4 separate regions of the Homo sapiens genome follow, and all the other regions are linked to region 2. Evidence: promoter capture Hi-C in human tissues and cell types (Jung and others, 2019). All regions are on one chromosome and are shown on one strand. The core of a region is centred on a gene start or on the middle of the fragment in contact, and the rest is flanking DNA. Distances in the headings are between cores, read along the strand shown.

What was found. The method cuts DNA at HindIII sites, captures the fragments that hold promoters and counts their contacts. A contact is called where the count stands out against the background at its distance.
Region 1: a fragment that was not itself captured here is called in contact with the fragment with the promoter of PDGFRL in region 2 in 1 of the 25 tissues and cell types used here (dorsolateral prefrontal cortex).
Region 3: a contact is called between a fragment that was not itself captured here and the fragment with the promoter of PDGFRL in region 2, in 2 of the 25 tissues and cell types used here (dorsolateral prefrontal cortex and hippocampus).
Region 4: a contact is called between a fragment that was not itself captured here and the fragment with the promoter of PDGFRL in region 2, in 1 of the 25 tissues and cell types used here (stomach).

The regions. Positions count from the first base shown.
Region 1 is chr8:17,399,962-17,402,661 of GRCh38, reverse strand. All of the region lies in intron 1 of MTMR7 (myotubularin related protein 7), which reads left to right. Among named protein-coding and RNA genes, the nearest start is that of MTMR7, 12 kb to the left of the region's middle. The HindIII fragment of the contact is 6,173 bases long and covers 1-2,700 here.
Region 2 is chr8:17,575,889-17,578,588 of GRCh38, reverse strand. It overlaps PDGFRL (platelet derived growth factor receptor like), which reads right to left and starts at 1,373. Exons shown (of 6, transcript NM_001372073.1): 1 at 1,282-1,373. The coding sequence starts at 1,336. RefSeq lists silencers at 968-1,017, 1,108-1,167. The HindIII fragment of the contact is 19,467 bases long and covers 1-2,700 here.
Region 3 is chr8:17,741,531-17,744,230 of GRCh38, reverse strand. It overlaps MTUS1 (microtubule associated scaffold protein 1), which reads left to right. Exons shown (of 15, transcript NM_001363059.2): 3 at 432-627. Among named protein-coding and RNA genes, the nearest start is that of MTUS1, 58 kb to the left of the region's middle. The HindIII fragment of the contact is 9,707 bases long and covers 1-2,700 here.
Region 4 is chr8:17,418,540-17,421,239 of GRCh38, reverse strand. No RefSeq gene overlaps it. Among named protein-coding and RNA genes, the nearest start is that of MTMR7, 6.5 kb to the right of the region's middle. The HindIII fragment of the contact is 6,995 bases long and covers 1-2,700 here.

The DNA.
Region 1 (2,700 bases), core at 199-2,698, 180 kb after region 2:
CAGACGAATGTATAAAGAAAACGTAGTACATATATACAATGGAGTACTATTCAGGCATAAAAAAGGAGGAGATCCCGTCATTTGCAGCAACATGGATGGGACTGAAGGTCATTGTGCTAAGTGAAAGAAGCCAGCTACAGAAAGACAAACTTCACATATTCTCGCTTATTTGTGGGAGCTAAAAATTAAAACAATTGAACACATGGAGACAGAGGGTAGAAGGATGGTTATCAGAGGCTGGGGAAGGTAGTGGGGTCTGGGGCAGGTGAGGGCGGATAGTGGCAATTGTTAACGGCTACAGAAAGTAGTTAGAAAGAATGAGTAAGACCTAGTATTTGATAGCACAACAGGGTGAATAATAATTTAATAAATAATAATAATTTAGCATTTTAAAGTAACTAAAAGAGTATAACTGGATTGTTTGTAACACAAAGAATAAACGTTTCAGGAGCTAGATACCCCATTTACCATGATGTGATTATTACACAACGCATGCCTGTATCAAAGTATCTCACATACTCCATAAATATATAGACCTACTATGTGCTCAGAAAAGTTAAAAAAATTTTTAAAAATAATTTTCCAGAATTTTATTGATAGACTGAATTTATTATGTCTTGTTTATATCAGACTACTTTCAAAAGAATTTGAGACCTTTGTAAAGTATACATGATTTAAAAAATAACCCTATAAAATATGTTTTGTATTGTCATTCCATAGTTCCTTAAGATAAGGTACTTATCCATAAGATCCATAATATGCATAAGATTCATAGTACCTGGATCTTATTAAAATAATTTGTATATCTAATAGGTACCTCAATTTCACTATGTCCCAAACTGAGCTGATTCCCTCTCGTCTCACACCCAATTTTCTCCTCTTGTGCTCTTTCCAATCTTGGCATTTCACCCTTCCAGTGCTGGAGCCAATAACTTTGGAGTTACCCTTCACTCCTCTTTTTCTCTCCTTCCATATCTATGCCAATAGTAAATCCTCAGCACTCTACTTTTAAAATATATCCAGGTTATCGCACCTCCATTCCTACCACCCTGTTCTGAAATACTATCAACTCTTTCCTGGTCCCCTTTTCATTTTTGCCGCTCCCCCACCAGTTTATTTTTGCCAGAGATACTGTTAAATATAATTTGGAGCTTGGACTTCTTTCGTGGGTCTCCTCACACCCAGAGGGAAATTCTATACCTTATCTGCCCCTTCTCCCTCTCAAATCTCATTTCCCACAACTACCCCACTCCCTGTTCTTGGACCTCACTGCTTGACCACTACTCCCTGGATACCCAGGCACACTCCTTTTTCAACACCTTTGCACGAGATGTTTCCTGTGCCTGGAACTTGCTTTCCTTAGATGTGCAGATGGTTTGCTCCCACACTTTTTTAGATCTTTGCTCAAATGTTATTTTATCAAGAAAGCCAATTTATCATCACATATAAAATAACAATCCTAACTCACCTCAACCAACATACTTTACCTCTTTATATTTTTCTCCATAGCATTTTTTCTGTAACATACATACACACCTACACACATACACATACCACACACATGCATACATTCCGTATCCCCCGAATTGCAAAGGTACCTGGCAGCTAGCTGCATTTATATACAACACTGAATGAATGAATATGGATTATTAGGTTCTATAACAGACCGTGTGTTCTGTACACCCAAGCCTCCATGCAAGACCACCAGACTTCAACTTTTGCTAGACCTGTTAAAAGTGAGGATTTCATGAAATGTGGGCGATTTTTGAGGAATGTTTAATCACAACTTCTGTGATTACTTGGCTTAGACAATCTATTCTTACTTGGAAAACTTAAAAAAGAAATACTGCCACATCTACACTTTTAAGTGGATTGCTTCATTCCAGCAAACTTATCTTATCAGCCTTGTCTTTTGAGTAAGAGCGTATTTGATTACAGTGACTACCTCCTCAACAGCTGTTAAATATTGTGCAATAAAAGTCTGACAATTAGATAAGAATCCATCTTTAAACCGGTCTAAATCAAAACAGTACTGAGGTTTGTTCTTTTGATAAAATCAAATTGCAACGACAAGAAAAACCAAGGGTAACGCTTGATAATGTAGAGGTAGCCCATTACTCTAGAGGCAGGGAAGCACACAGGACTCCAGAGGGCCTGGAGATAGCATTGTAAGGCCGCTGGGATCCTAAACTGCATTTTCTTTCCTGTTCTCAACATCAAAACGCAAAATGGTAGAGTTGTTAAGAACACACACTCTGGGGCCACAATGCCTGGTTTTGAATCCTCACTCTGCCTCTTACAGCTCACTAACTTATTTAACTTTAGTTTCCTCATCTGTGAAATGGGGATAACAACAGTACTCACCTCTTAGGGTGATTTTGAGGTCTAAGCGTCTTAATAAATGTGAATCTAGAATGGTGCCTAGCACAGTAGCTATAGTGTTATTTCAGAATTTTCTTTTATCAGTACTATCGGTACTATTGTTGTATTGCTCTTGTTATAAATAATTGCAAAAAATAAATTCAATCTCAACAGTAAACAAATAAACATAAATTGATGAGAAACCATACTTCATCTATAATTCTCAAGAATTTTTTAAAGGGTATTCCTCTGCCATAATAGCAGATACAATCCTAGAGAAAAGCATACAAACAGCATCAAAAATCTTTAAAATGTATATAGAAATGGAACCAGAAAAGA
Region 2 (2,700 bases), core at 124-2,623:
TTCTGCCTTTTCAGCGGTTGCACACAAGGGCCTGCCAGGAGCATTTTAATATTGCATTTTACAAACTGAACTCATGGCAACTTCTCTCTGGGCAGAGTTAAGTGTTACTCTCCCAGTAGAAGCTCTGCCTACGTTTTATTAAGCAAAGCTCTAGGCTGAAGGACCCTCATGCTCAACTTCAAGTACCACGACTATCTTGGATTTTGCAAACTACAATGCGGTATTTTTTTGGCAAATGTAGTTTCCTAGGAAAGAAAGGAACTGGTCAGGATGAACGAGTGGATAAAAATGTGAGCCAGGTCGAGCTGGCTCCAGCATGAAGTTGCATAACAGCAAAAGCTACTTTTCCACTAAATCTAAGCAAAAATTGTGTTGTAGCCCAGGAATTTCAAGAGAGGGTTGAGGACACCAGGAGGCACCCAGATGAAACATGTACTGTACAAATAACACCCATGGAGTGAATAGAGCAAACAAAACATTTAAATGCTAACAATAATATATAATACACACCACAGTAATACACACACCCAGACACACAGAAAAATAACACCAGACCCTGTGGTCACGGGTGTACACGACAGGGTGGACCCAGGACAGGTACACATTCAAAAACGCGCAGCGGTCATGGTCCCATAAGCTGTACCAAAAAAATGCATTTTCTTCACCATTTCCCATCCAATTAGATAAATATAATAAGCCGTGGGCTTTTGATTCGTTTTGAAGTTTCATACACTGACATTTTTGTTCGAAGATCTAGGCAGATCTTGCAGGATTCAAGCAAAAGGTGGTAGACGAAAACACGCCCAGAACTGCGAGGGGAGGGGGAGGTCACCTGGAACTCTGCAACCGAATCAGCGATTGCCGAGCTTAGGTGGCACTCGCTCTCAGCAGCAGAGGTCCCAGCCACGCCGCTGGGAGGTGGAAGCGATCCGAGGCTCCCGCCCCACCTCCCAGACCGACACGTTGACACTGGGGGCTGGACCAGGCGCTGGCTGGGGATGCTTGGTTCGCCCGGAGATGGGGACTTGGAGAGGTCCTGGTGGGCTCCTAAGGGTCGGGGTAGCTGCCACCACCCCTAGAGGGCTCTCCGGGCAGGCAAAGAGTGGGAGGAAAGGAGACCCCACCAGGAGGGGGCAGGTGCACCGGGCAGGCAGTGGCGCGGGGGCTGAGCCACCGAGGGCCGAACGTTAGACCAAGAGCTGGCAGGAGGGCGGCGGGGGCTTCGGGTCCCGGCTAAAGTCAGGGCACAAGCTAGGTGGCCCCGCGCCCAGAGTCACTCACCATCCTCCAGCGCTTCGTGCACCAGCAGAAGACCAAGCAGCAGCCAGACCTTCATCTCGGGAACCTCGGACCTCGGAGCGCAGGAGCGCGGCGGCTGCGCGGGGCGGGGACGCAGGGGAGGCGGCGGGCGAGGGGCGGGCTCCTGGGACGCCGAAGCGGGAGGATTCGGTTTCTTCAGGAGGAACAAGGTTTGGGGGAAAAAGTTGGGGAATTTTTTTTTTTTTTAGTTCTCTGTGTAATGTGACTTCTCCTGCCCCCTGGCGGAGCCGCGGTGCGCAGCACTTCTTCCCAGCGCGGGGAGGAAAGGCTAAGCGTGAAATGTACATTACAACAGCCATTCCTTGAATTTCTCCAACGCTTGGCGTTTTCACCAAGGTTATCAAGTTCAAGAAGGATCAGCGGGTGCTGATGGGGTCACTTTTAACCACGATTGTCCAAATGTTACCAGCGCCCGCCCCACCTCCTCAGGCAGAACCTGAGTGCTCTGTAAAAAGTGCTTCCTAAATTATTTCTGTTCATTCCATTTCTCTCCCCCACATGCACTCACTCACAGGACCGTTGCCCCGGGTTCTTGCTGCTCCTCTGTGTCTGGCCAGAGTTGGTCTCCGCACCCAGCCCTGTAACTGCTGGTGGGGGTGGGAGGACGGGTTCATTACAGGAATAACGTGGAAAATGAGACTGTGCAGACAACCCGGGCCTCTGGTGGTGAGGCAGGAGAACAGGGAATTAGGGTAAGCACGGGCTAGGGTATGAGCAGGAGAACAGCAGGTGCAGCCAGTTCGCAGAAGCAAAAGATCAGCAGGTGCAGACAGTTCTAGGCATGATTAGGCGGCACACAGGCCACATCCTCGCTCCTCTGATAACAAGGCAGAAGTTTCCACTTCAGCCTCGGACTGGTCGCAGGCCAGTCCTTCGTAAGGTGTAACCAGTTGGAGGCCTCTAAAGGGAACCCAAGGGTGTTGCCAAGTTCTTTTCGCTTTATAAAATCCCTGGGGAGCGTCAGGCTCTTGTGGCTTGCTGCAGCGCCCTCTGTGAATTGTCTTCTATAAATCTACGTTTTCCTTCCTCCCTTCTGTTGCTTTGTTTTTCCTTGCTTCTTTCTTTCGTTACTCCGTGCATTTCGTTCAATTTTTTGTTCAACAGGCCAAGAACCTGGACAACTCTATCAGGTAACAGTGGGGCAGAAGATACGGGCTTTCACAAGTCCCTCTGCAGAGAGCCATCCTGCGTTTCTGAGCTTGCAGACTCTCATGATCAAAGCAGTTTGCTAGCGGGGGAGATGCCTGTGTGTGTTCCCCCGGTGAGAAGCAGCCCATCTCATTGTAATCTTCAGCACCAGGCACTGCTATTAAAGGGAGCTCAATTCTAAATAACAGGAAAGGGACTTGTCCCTCAACACCCAACGAAAGAAGTGCTGCC
Region 3 (2,700 bases), core at 127-2,626, 170 kb before region 2:
AGATCTGGGAAGGGAAGAAGATTCTCTACAGAATGTAAATTTGCCCCTACAAGAGACAGCTTTGCAGGGCCATTTCAAAATGTGTTAAAGAAAAATATTTTGGGGTAAAATACTTCAATTTCCTTCAGGGCTTGCTGTCTGTCATGTGATGCTAAACTAGAGTCAGGTTGGAATTTAGTGTCTTTTTGCTATAAAGAGTCTGTTTTGTCTGACTTAAGGTTTCTGTTTTAATGTTAATTCTGGTCAGTTGTGCCTGAATTCTAAAGGGAGGAGAGTATAATGAGGCATGTCTGACCTCTTTGCCATCATGGCCTGAACTTGTTTTTTAGGTTTCTTTGGAATTGCCTTGGCCTAGAGGAGGGGCCCATTCAGTCAGTTGGGGGGCTTAGAATTTTAGTTTTGGTTTACAGTCTTAACTGTTATTTTCACAGGGCTCTGCTTCAAAAACAACGACCACCTCAGGTAGGAATATATCCAAGCCTGACTCCTGCGGTTTGAGGCAAATAGCTGCTCCAAAAGCCAAAGTGGGGCCCCCTGTTTCCTGTTTGAGGCGGAACAGTGACAATAGAAATCCCAGTGCTGATCGAGCCGTATCTCCTCAGAGGATCAGGCGTGTGTCCAGTTCTGGTAAGAATAAAATAGTTCAATAGTTTATGAGTTAATTGAATGTAAAATTGGACAGTCATGATTATAGGTCTAATGCCTTCTGTCACTAAAGCAGTTAGCCTTTTGTGGATCAGCATCCTGAGCACAGGAGGTAGAAAAAGAAGATGACAACATATATCCCTTATCTTTGAGCAAGGCAAAGGCTAGTTGAGGAGAGAGGTATAGGTGTATAAACCATCTTATAAGCTATTCAGAAGGATGTGTACATAAATATACAATTGGGTGGCTGATGTAAATTTGAATCATTTCATTAAGTTTTTTCAAATGGTTAAGTGCTTAACAATGCTGAAGTGTTGTACGGTAGGTCCCTAGTGTGCCCTCAATACATGTGAAGAGATTAATTTTTTTTTTAATTTTACTGAAAGATGTATGATAGATTTAGGAGGGATATGAGGGTGACTAAAAAGTTAAATTTTTCTAATGTGAACTTTTATTTATGTTGGCTTGTATCTTACAATTTGTAATTTTAAAGTCATGTTAGGCCAATGAAATGTGAGCGCCTCAAGAATAGCTATTAAGTATCATACTAAATTTGGCGGACGTACAGATCTGTGTTACAAAGAAATGGAAAAGTCATCCCTGTGTCACGGGGATGAAAAGCCTGCTAGCCATTCCAATTGACTGAGAACATCTTGCAAAGAACCCACCTTACTTCTGCCGGTACAGCCTTGGGCAAATTAAAGTCATGTCAAATCAATTTAGTAGTAAGTTCCCTTATACAAATAGTTATGTGTCCACACACGTGAGAATGTTTTATGGAAACTAATGAAAGCGAGCAAATCCCAGAAGATCTCTGTACCTCTCTACAATTTAGTATTTGTAGGTTTCATTTTTCAACCCTACCATGAAGCCTCAAGTGTGAAAGCCTGTAATGCTTAGAAATGTTTTACGGGCTGTTTATTTAGATTCAGGCCTAGTGTCAAGGTCAAGGAGACATGACCACAGAGGCGTGAGTGGAGGAAGAGGGGTTTGCAGCACATGGCTCCATCCCCAGAGGATCTGGGTGGAAACAGGAATTCATTAGCTTGGAGTGTTCATCATCTGGGAGAAAAACAGAGGCCAAAAGCCATTGGGAGAAAGAGTGATTCTTATTTGGGATATTGCCACACCTGGGGAGTCAAGGCATGAGTGAGATGAAAGCTCTAGTCCTGGCTGGGTGTGGTGGTTTATGCCTGAAATCCCAGTGCTTTAGGAAGCCAAAGTGGGCCAGGAGTTCAGGACCAGCCTGGGCAACATAGCAAGACACTATCTCTAAAAAAAAAAAAAAAAAAAACAACAACAACAAAAAAAAAAAACAGCTGGGCATGAGAGCATGATGGTGTGCCCTTGTAGGGGCTCCTCAGCTATTCAGGAGGCTGAGGCAGGAAGATCACTTGAGCCCAGAAGTTCAAAGCTGCAGTGAGCTATGATCATGCCACTGTACTCCAACCTGGGCAGCAGAGCAAAACCCTGTCCCTTGGTGGTGAAGAAAAAGCTCTGGTCCTTACTGTAGTTGTCCAATAAGGCTCATGGTGCTTGCAGAGAATGGGAAGCTCCCTTCCTCCTCTGTGAGGAACACCTGTAGCTTGGTGGCACTGGAGTGTGGCCCCTGGCCTGCAGTTAGGAGCCCTGTGTTTTAGTTCCACTCTGGCCCCAATACGCTGCCTGAGCAAGTCTTTTACTCTCCCTGGGCTTCATCTTCACATCTTGAAAGTGTAAGTGTCTGAGAATCTAAGACCCTGTCAGCTTTTACAGCCCTTACCTTTCTAGGGACAATTTGGAGCTCACCTAATTTTCTGAGTAACTGCTGTTACTGGTATGATTCTCTGAATTTCGTGGGGCTTGAATCCCAGAAAATCTAAGCGCACATACTTTTAAGAAATGAGGCCAGTACCCAGGATACATTGAAAAAGATAGAATCCTTTTATGTAGGCGATCAGTCCCACCCAGCGGGGAAGTAGTTGTTAAGTCCTTTTACTCTGTGTTGCATAATGTGTCTTAGAGAAAAGTGGATCTGTTTAGTCTTAGTGAAAAGACAGGGCATGCTTTTGAGCT
Region 4 (2,700 bases), core at 47-2,546, 160 kb after region 2:
TCTTTTGAAAGATCCATCCCTAAATATTTTCCTTGTTTCTCATTGCCAATCTCAAATTTTGTTCCTTCCAAGTCCCGGGCATTGAACAAATGCTGCTCACCCACCTTTAATTGGCATCAGTCTGTATATGTGGCCATCTATCCTTCAAGGCATTGAAGTTTCAAGAAAAACTGCACAGTTCTGCCCACCTGGAGAAGTTCCGTCCTCTCCATCCTTGGTGGCCACTCCTGAGCAGAGCTGTAGTGCTGCAGCATTCCACTTCCGGCCGCTTTGAGTTTATGGTGCAGAAACGTATATAAACCAGGCTGGAACTTTTTCTTCTTTTGTGAACTACGTGCATTAAATGCCCTATAACACTGTAAGTATGAATTGAGGGAGAGGTGGCATTGATCGACACTGGAAGAAGACATGGGAATCTGAACCACCTTCTCGTGAAACTCAGTTGGACCTTTAGCGTATGCTTCAGTGGGAGCTCTCTCTCTCTCTCTCTTTATTGTTTTTGAGACAGGGTCACCTCTGTCACCCAGGCTGAAGTGCAGTGGTGTGATCATGGCTCACTGCAGCCTCGACTTTCCAGGGAGATCTCTTATGTCCCACTTCCTTCTGATGTTTGAGTGCTTCTGGGCTATGCAGAGGATGCAGGCATCCTCTGCATCTTTTTAACATGAGCACAACAGACCACCTCATACCCATTAAGATGGCTGCTATAAAAAAAAAAAAAACTAAAACCAAAAATCCTCCAGAAAATAACATGTATTTGTGATGAAGCAGAGAAATTGGAACACTTCTGCACTGTTAGTGGGAAGGTAAAATGCTGCAACCACCATGAAAAACAGTGTAAGATTTCCTCAAAAAACTAAAAATGGAATTACCATATGACCCAGCAATTCCATGTCGGGGTGTATATTCAAAAGAATTGAAAGCAGGTGTCAGTGAGATTTCTGCACACCCATGTTCATAGCAGGATTATTCACAATAGCCAAAATGTACAAGCAACCCAACTGTCCACTGGAGAATGAATGGATAAACAAAATGTGCTCTATCCACACAATGGAATATTATTCAGCCTTCAAGAGGCAAACAATTCTGACATATGCTACAACATGGATGCATCTTAAGAAAATTGTGCCAAGTGAAATAAGCCATTCACAAAAGGACAAATACTATATGATCATACGGTATTTATGTGAGGTACCTAGAGTTGTCATATTCATAGTAATAGAAAGTAGAAGGATGATTGCCAGGGGCCAAGGGTAGGGAAAAATCAGGAGTTATCGTTGTGTGGGTACAGAGTTTCAGCTTCGCAAGATGAAAAGCGTTCTGGAGATGGATAGTGGTGATGATTGCACAACAATGTAAATACGGTTAACACCACTGAACAATACACTTAAAATGGTTAAAATGGTAAATTTTATGTATATTTTACCATATTTTGAAGTACCTTAAAAGTTAACACAAGGGCGCTGTATGGCTGTGGTGGGCCATGCAGTAACCAACCATGAGTCTTCAATTAGAGCTTGCAAGAGGCTCCATACCAACCTCTATCTGCTGCAGTCACCTTGAGTATATCTGGATCTGCTGAGGTCAAAAGGCCACTGTGGTAGATCCGTATCCACTACAACCCAAACCAGCTGGAGAGCCTTTTTGTGCTCTGGGCCCTGTGCAGAGCTGGTAGCCTTTCTGGATAGCTCAGGAATAGGTTACATCATATATTAGTAGGGGTGCAAAGTGAAGCAACTTGCCTTTCACTTTGGAGAGGCTATTTTAACATGCTCCAGACTACTGCAGATCTCTAGAAATTCACTGAGATGTCAGGACCCTGAACTTTCCCAGAGTGCATCTCCCACCCTCTGATATGCATGTGCCTTAGTTAGACATCTACCACTTTCAGTTCAACAGGTCCAATCAGCATGTTATTATCAATGTAGTGGACCGTGTAGTAGCCTTAGCATAATGTACTGATCAAGGTCCTCGTGGAAAAGTTGTGACAGATGAAAATAAACTGCTTATGATCATCTCTGCTCATTGAAATGAACAGACAAGAGTTACTTTGGAAGAACTGCATCTGGTGGGAATGTTCAAATGAATTTTGACATGAACCTCAAAGAATTTGATAGACGTGGAACAGCATGAGCGAAGACATAGAAATAATTTGCAAGTGCAGGATATAGAAAGGGATTGGTTGACTAATTGATACATTTAAAAGTATGTATCTAGGCTGCGTGCAGAGGCTCGCACCTGTAATCCCAGCACTTTGGGAGGCTGAGGGGGGAGGATCATGAGGTCAGGAGATCGAGACCATCCTGGCTAACACGGTGAAACCCTGTCTCTACTAAAAATACAAAAAAAAAAAAAAAAAAAAATTAGCCGGGCGTGGTGGCGGGCGCCTGTAGTCCGGCTACTGGGAAGGCTGAGGCAGGAGAATGGTGTGAACCCAGGAGGTGGAGCTTGCAGTGAGCTGAGATCGCACCACTGCACTCCAGCCTGGGCGACAGAGCGAGACTCCATCTCAAAAAAACAAAAAAACAAAAAAAACAGTATTGAGCACCTACTAAATGCCAGTGACTTACTTGGCTGAGTTTGTAAAAGACAGCAGTCTGAGCCTTAAAGGACAGAGTAAGGAAATAATTCACAAGGCAATTATAAACCACTTGAAGGTTTTTAAGCTGGAGAGTGATATGGTTAGGGTGGTTTTCATGA